Regions from separate parts of the Homo sapiens genome. Here region 2 is linked to region 1. The links are contacts of gene promoters, found by promoter capture Hi-C in blood cells and fetal thymus (Javierre and others, 2016). All regions are on one chromosome and are shown on one strand. Each heading gives the region's core, a stretch centred on a gene start or on the middle of the fragment in contact. The rest is flanking DNA. Distances are from core to core; before and after follow the strand shown. Region 1 holds the start of RSBN1L (round spermatid basic protein 1 like). Region 2 has its middle 2.8 kb from the start of DMTF1.

What was found. Contacts are between HindIII fragments. The CHiCAGO score rates a contact against its expected background, and 5 or more counts as called.
Region 2: a fragment that was not itself captured here is called in contact with the fragment with the promoter of RSBN1L in region 1 in 1 of 17 cell types (fetal thymus); the score reaches 5.9 in fetal thymus.

What each region holds. Positions count from the first base shown.
Region 1 is chr7:77,694,584-77,697,820 of GRCh38, forward strand. RSBN1L (round spermatid basic protein 1 like) reads left to right here and starts at 1,876. Exons shown (of 8, transcript NM_198467.3): 1 at 1,876-2,472. The coding sequence starts at 1,887. APTR (Alu-mediated CDKN1A/p21 transcriptional regulator) reads right to left here and starts at 1,682. Exons shown (of 2, transcript NR_134254.1): 1 at 1,313-1,682. RefSeq lists enhancers at 971-1,866, 1,867-2,762, 1,947-2,176 and silencers at 1,697-1,916, 2,387-2,706, 2,997-3,096. The HindIII fragment of the contact is 2,163 bases long and covers 1,225-3,237 here.
Region 2 is chr7:87,148,124-87,151,261 of GRCh38, forward strand. No RefSeq gene overlaps it. Among named protein-coding and RNA genes, the nearest start is that of DMTF1, 2.8 kb to the right of the region's middle. The HindIII fragment of the contact is 1,663 bases long and covers 449-2,111 here.

The DNA of each region.
Region 1 (3,237 bases), core at 626-3,125:
AAAAAAAAATTCTTAAAAATATTCTTAAAAAAATGAGTAAATAGGCACTGTCGCCCCGGGTGGAGTGCAATGGCACGAACTCAGCTTACTGCAACCTCTGCCTTACAGATTCAAGGGATTCTTCTGCCTCAGCCTCCAGAGTAGCTGGGACTACAGGCGCATGCCACTACGCCCAGCTAATTATGTATTTTTAGTAGAGGCAGGGTTTCACTATGTTGGCCAGGCTGGTCTCGAACTCCTGACATTGTGATCTGCCCGCCTTGGCCTCCCAAAGTGCTGGGATTACAGGTATGAGCCACCGCGCCCGGCCACATTCCTTATCTTTTAAGCTAAAACCCATCTCCCCAAATTGCTTATTTTCGAAGCAAAAATCAAAGCACATGCTTACAAAACATCGAACACGCAGTGTGCTTACTAAACGCTAAAATACAGAAACCTAAAAAAACAATTCTTGCTTTTCAAACATCCATAAATAATCGCCAACGAATTTTTCCTGGCAAGTCTACGTTATAATAATAATAATATTATTATTATTATTATTATTTTTTGAGACGGAGTCTTGCCCTGTCGCCCAAGCTGGAGTGCAGTGGCGCAGTCTCGGCTCACTGCAACCTCCGCCTCCTGGGTTCAAGCGATTCTCCTGCCCCAGCCTCCCCAGTAGCTGGGATTACAGGTGCGCGCTTCCATGCCCAGCTAATTTTTGCATTTTTAGTAGAGACGGGGTTTCACCATGTTGGTCAGGCTGGTCTCGAACTTCTGACCTCGTGATCCGCCCGCCCCGGTCTCCCAAAGTGCTGGGATTACAGGTGTGAGCCACCGCGCCCGGCTATAATAATTATTATAAAATTCAAATCTTAAGGCCGCACATGGTGGCTCACGCCTGTAATCCCAGCACTTTGGGAAGCGGAGGTGGGCCGCTCACCTGAGATCAGGAGTTCGAGTCCAGCCTGGCCAACATGGTGAAACCCCGTCTCTAATAAACACAAAAATTAGCCAAGCATGGTGCCGGACGCCTGTAGTCCCTGTTACTGGGGAGGCTGAGGCAGGAGAATCGCTTGAATCTGGGAGGCGGAGGTTGCGGTGAGCCGAGATCGCGCCACGGCACTCCAGCCTCGACAACAGAGCAAAACTCCGTCCCAATAAATAAATAAATAAATAAAATAAAAATCTTAAGGGTCTAGTCACAACAGTTCAAAAGTCTCCAAAGGGAGACTCTCACCTTCAAGCTTGTAAGTAATACTAAAGTTCTAGATTTGCTGGAAGTTATCTCCTTCAATGGATTACAGCACATGATCTAGCAATAATAACGTACCTTGTCACCACATCGAATGATTTTGAACACTTCCCATCAATCGACTACCGACTAACAAAAAGAAGGACTTGATTCCCGGCAATTTTTTCTCTTCTGAACTGAGCATTCCCGAAATCCAGCTTGCTGAACGCGCAGATGCAGGGTGAGAGGCACCCCAGGAAAAATGGAAGGGAAAGTGGTACAAGTTAAAACAGTCTTCGTGGCCGCAGAGACGATCGCTACCTCGGCCATGGCAGATCTGGGGGTCCGGGGCGGGGGTTCTTCCCTGATACCCACCGGGCACGCGAGTTCACGCCAGCGACAGTGGAAAGCCCTCCCCTCGCAGCGCGCTCCGCCACTAGCCGCACCCCGCCGAGCTCTGACCTCCGAAGAGGGTCCCTGTGGCGATCCCGCCCCTTCGTCTGATGTTTGTGCCTTTGATTGGCTCTTAGGTGGATCCCTCAGCGTGGCTTGCCCAATGGAGCAATGCCGGCTGGTGGCCTGGCCGCTCCGCCCCTTCCCTACCCCTCGCGGAGGGCCCGCCCCCTGCCCCGCGCCGGCTAGCGGAGGAGAGTAAATACAACAGGAGCGCAAAATGGCGGAACCGCCGAGCCCCGTGCACTGTGTCGCTGCCGCGGCCCCCACCGCCACCGTCTCGGAGAAAGAACCGTTTGGCAAGCTGCAACTCTCCTCCCGGGACCCTCCGGGTTCTCTGTCCGCCAAGAAGGTCCGGACTGAGGAGAAGAAGGCACCGCGGAGAGTGAACGGAGAAGGGGGCAGCGGCGGGAACAGCAGGCAGCTGCAGCCGCCGGCAGCACCTTCGCCTCAGAGCTATGGCAGCCCCGCGTCTTGGAGCTTTGCCCCTCTGTCTGCTGCTCCCTCCCCGTCCTCTTCTCGGAGCAGTTTCTCTTTCTCCGCTGGCACGGCCGTTCCCTCCTCAGCCTCCGCTTCCTTGTCTCAGCCGGTGCCGCGCAAACTGCTGGTCCCTCCTACGCTGCTGCACGCTCAGCCTCACCATCTCCTCCTGCCCGCCGCCGCCGCCGCTGCCTCGGCTAACGCCAAGTCGCGCAGACCTAAGGAGAAGCGGGAGAAGGAGAGGAGGAGGCACGGTCTCGGTGGGGCCCGAGAGGCCGGCGGGGCCTCCCGGGAGGAGAACGGGGAGGTGAAGCCGCTGCCCCGAGGTGGGTGCCGTGCGGGGAGGGGGAGGGGAGGGCGCCGTGGGTCCCCGCCGCCCCCTGGCGCCCACGGGGCCCGGGAAGGGGGAGCGCGGCGGCCGCGTGCGCCGGCCTGGAGGGGCTGGGAGGCGTCCGGTTTTCAGCAGAGGATTTTGCAGTTCCCAAGGGGACAGGAAATGGAGCCTGTAATTTCGGTTGCAGAGAGGGGGATGGCCGACACTCTTATTTTCTGTATCGTTTCTTCCTCCCAGTTAGTGCGCTGCAGGATTTGTGAAAATCCATCTTGAGGACTCTCCTAGGTTTGTTTGGCTAGGGAGAGAGATGGAGGGAACGGGATGGGGGAAGGGTTTGGTTTTGTAAAAGATGCTTGATTGATTGTTAGACCACTTAGACGTGGTCGCGGGAATTCGTATTTGTGACACAGCGTTCAACCCCGGATAATCCTGTCAAAAAAGGGGTGTGGAGAGAGCACTGGCGTCAGCTGGAAGCTACCAGAGGCCTGAGCTTTTCATCCCTATTAGGGAAATGAGGTAGCGTGCAGGGCCCGAAGTGCGCTGTTTCGTAAGGTACCCTCCCTGCACCCTACTCTCCGCTGCGTATTCTTAAGTGTTTTGGGTGGTCCTGTTTGAAATACCACCCTTCTGAAAGAATTTTCAGCCATATTCTTTTTTTCCCTGCAGCAAATGATAAAACCAGGAGCTTTGACGATTTTTCGCCAGATCAAGCGGCTGCAGAATGTTTGAGCATTAGAAAAAGGCGAATTCTTAAGGG
Region 2 (3,138 bases), core at 30-2,529, 9.5 Mb after region 1:
TCTCCATCATATTTCCTGTGCCTAAAATAGTGCTCAGCCCAAAGGAGGTGCTCAGGAAGAGCTGCTGAATGAAATGACCGAGTGTATCACAAATGTGCAAACTCCTGAAAGTTATAAACATTATCGTAGTTCCTTGTTTCTTCCTGTTTCACTGCATATTCTGTGCAAAGGAATTAAATGTACAGTGAATAGAAGGGAAGGGGATTAATCCAGAAGTCTTTTAATTCTAGAGAGCTTTCTCATATTTTGATTTCAAAGCAGAATCCTTATCCCTTTAGCTTTATTACTGTTGAGGCTTGTCCTTGGTCTGCCACAGCATATCATTAGCAATGAAGGCCCCAAAATTTCTATCTACTGTTGAAGTTACTACTTGGGAAAGAAAAAACAAAAACAAAAACAAAAAAAAACTCCTGCTGAACAATAGGGACATCTGCTGGCTAAAATGACAAGCTTCTATTCTTAAAATACTGCATCTAGATGCACAAGACTTGGGCAATAAGGTTTAGAGTAACACCAAATATGTGATGTGTTAAAATAACTTCTTTCCACTTGAAAAATAGGTAACATGTGTTTGTTTTAGTCCAGAATTGTCCAAGTAGCAACACTATCTGGAAAAATACTGTGTGATCGCCAGTAGTCAGCTGTTCTTGCCAAAGAATAGAAATGGCTAGCTTCCAAGTCTTCTGGCTTAAGATAATTATCTTTAATATCAACAAACATTTAAATGTCTGCTAAGTTAAGGTATTGTGCCATATATTAGCAAATCAAAGCTCATGGCAAAGGGGTAAGATGGCCCATTTCTGCTATGTCTGGGCATGCACTGAGCTCTAGTCTCAGAGGAATAGGAATACTATTCAGTCTTAAAAAAGAAGAAAATTCTGCAATATGCAACAACATGGATGAACCTTGAGGACATTATACTAAGTGAAATAAACCAGTCACAGAAATACAAATACTACATGATTTCACTTATGTTAAGTATCTAAAATAGACGAATTTTTAGAATCAGAGTGGAATGGTGGTTTACCAGGGGCTGGGGAGAGGGGATGGGGAGTTAGTAATCAGCGGGCATAAAGTTTCAAGTAAGATGAATAAGCTCTAGAGATCTGCTGTACAACATTGTACCCATAGTCAATGATAATGTTTTATATACTTAAAATTTTATTGAGGGCAGATGTCATGTTGTGTTCTTACCACAATAAAGTTTTTTGAGAAATTCAGCTAACATTTGCAAGGGACAGCCTATCACCTGGCAGTGCTCTGCTTTCACCATTTTATAAACATTTTACAAGCCAGTTGCTTTCTGCAAATATGCTTTCATGCACTAGCTTGACAAATGCTTTCCCACCTTGCACCCCCTACTATGCTTCTTTATTCTTACCTTTCTGCTTAAGTATCTTCTCAGAAAGGCCTACTCTGAACTCTCTATGTAAAAGTTCACTTTCAGAGCACCCAAGTTGTATCTTTCTCAGAACTTACAAAACATGGCAATTATTGCTTAGTTAACTAATACATTGTCCCTCTCTCTTCCATGCTAGATTATAAAGGAACAGGTCTTTGAGTCTGGGTCTGGATATTATCCTGTTTTAGTGAAGTATCTGAACTGTTTTGTTTTGCACACCAAAATTACAAAGACAGAACAAAAATTTTTATCCTTATTGGCTAGGAGTATTGGACGCCTTAGCTCTCCATTCCCTTGATAAGGAAACACTTTTCTGGCTAATATTCTATCAATAGGTCTCAACAAAGATTTACCACAAAAGAAGAAAAAAGTGAAGTGGATATAGAGAGGTTGTCACCAGGCTGAGGTATTAAAAGGATTGCAGAGATGAGACACATAGGCAAAATGCAAGGCGGGAAAAGGATTGTAAGATGGAGTGTCATAAGGCCCAGAGGGAAGCCTACAGGAAGAATCTGAGACAGGAGACCACCTGGTAAAGCCTGGTGTGTGGGCATAACTGGGACAGTTTATTCATTCCTCCATTAGCACAGCAATCTCCATCAGCTGGAAGGCCCTACAGTGTATACCCATCAGCTATATTAACAGGACTCAGAGCCTGTGTAGAAAGAAAATTACTCAGTAATTGTAATTTTCTTTTACTTTGAACAAAAGCTTATAAACATCTTTTTTTTTTCTGAATTAGCAAAAGATGATCATGAAACAACAGAACCTGCTTCTCAGTATTTGAAATACTTTATATTAATATATCAACCTGTCATAAAAGGCAATTTCATCATCAATCACTGATGAGGTTCACAAAAGTGTTATAGACACCTGGAGTCCAACAAAGTCAATTTTAACTAGCAAATGCAGTAAATACCATAGCTAAGCTATAAATACTTTAATAATTATTGTTTAGGATAGAAATACTTCTAATGATTTTTCTACAAAACATTTAATTCCTAAATAGGTAAATCCTTGGATAATATTTAAAACCTCATCCATTCCCTAGGTACACATTGACTAAATAATGAGGTACGGATAACATAGAAGTATAACTGCAGAAAATTGCTCTAGGAATCAAGTTGTGTTATGGATAGTCTTTACATTGATTATTCAAGCTAAAGGGATAGAGACGTTATTATATTTTTTTAAATTATGCATTAAGCTAATATTAAAATACATTTGTCATCCCCAAATAAATACCAATTGACTTGGGAAAAGGTAGTTATAAAAGAAACTCAACCAGAAAGGGAGAATTTAGTTATGAGGATGCACTTGACTTTTTGCGGGGAGTTAGCAGCGTGCAGGCTGACCTAAAATTTAGCAGAGGAGAATGGATAGCCCGACTATAATTTATATATCACTATTTTGTGCCTTAGCAAAAATAATCCTATATGGTTATGTCTTATGAAAAATATGGCTCATTAGGAACCACCTTATCAATGTTAATGTCAACAATTTTGCATATGTAATTATTATTTTATTAGAACTGCTCTTTGAGTAGTTGTATTGCTTTCCTGGCTTTAAGGTTTATTAGTTACCATTTTTAATGCTTAATACACGTCAGATTCCATGCAAACTACGCTGTCTACAATATTCTGGAAGGTACATCTTATTACTCCTAAAGTAAACAAAGCTAAAAGAGGTGAAGTGCCATATCCACTACTAAGAAATGGAGCCAAGATTCACACTCA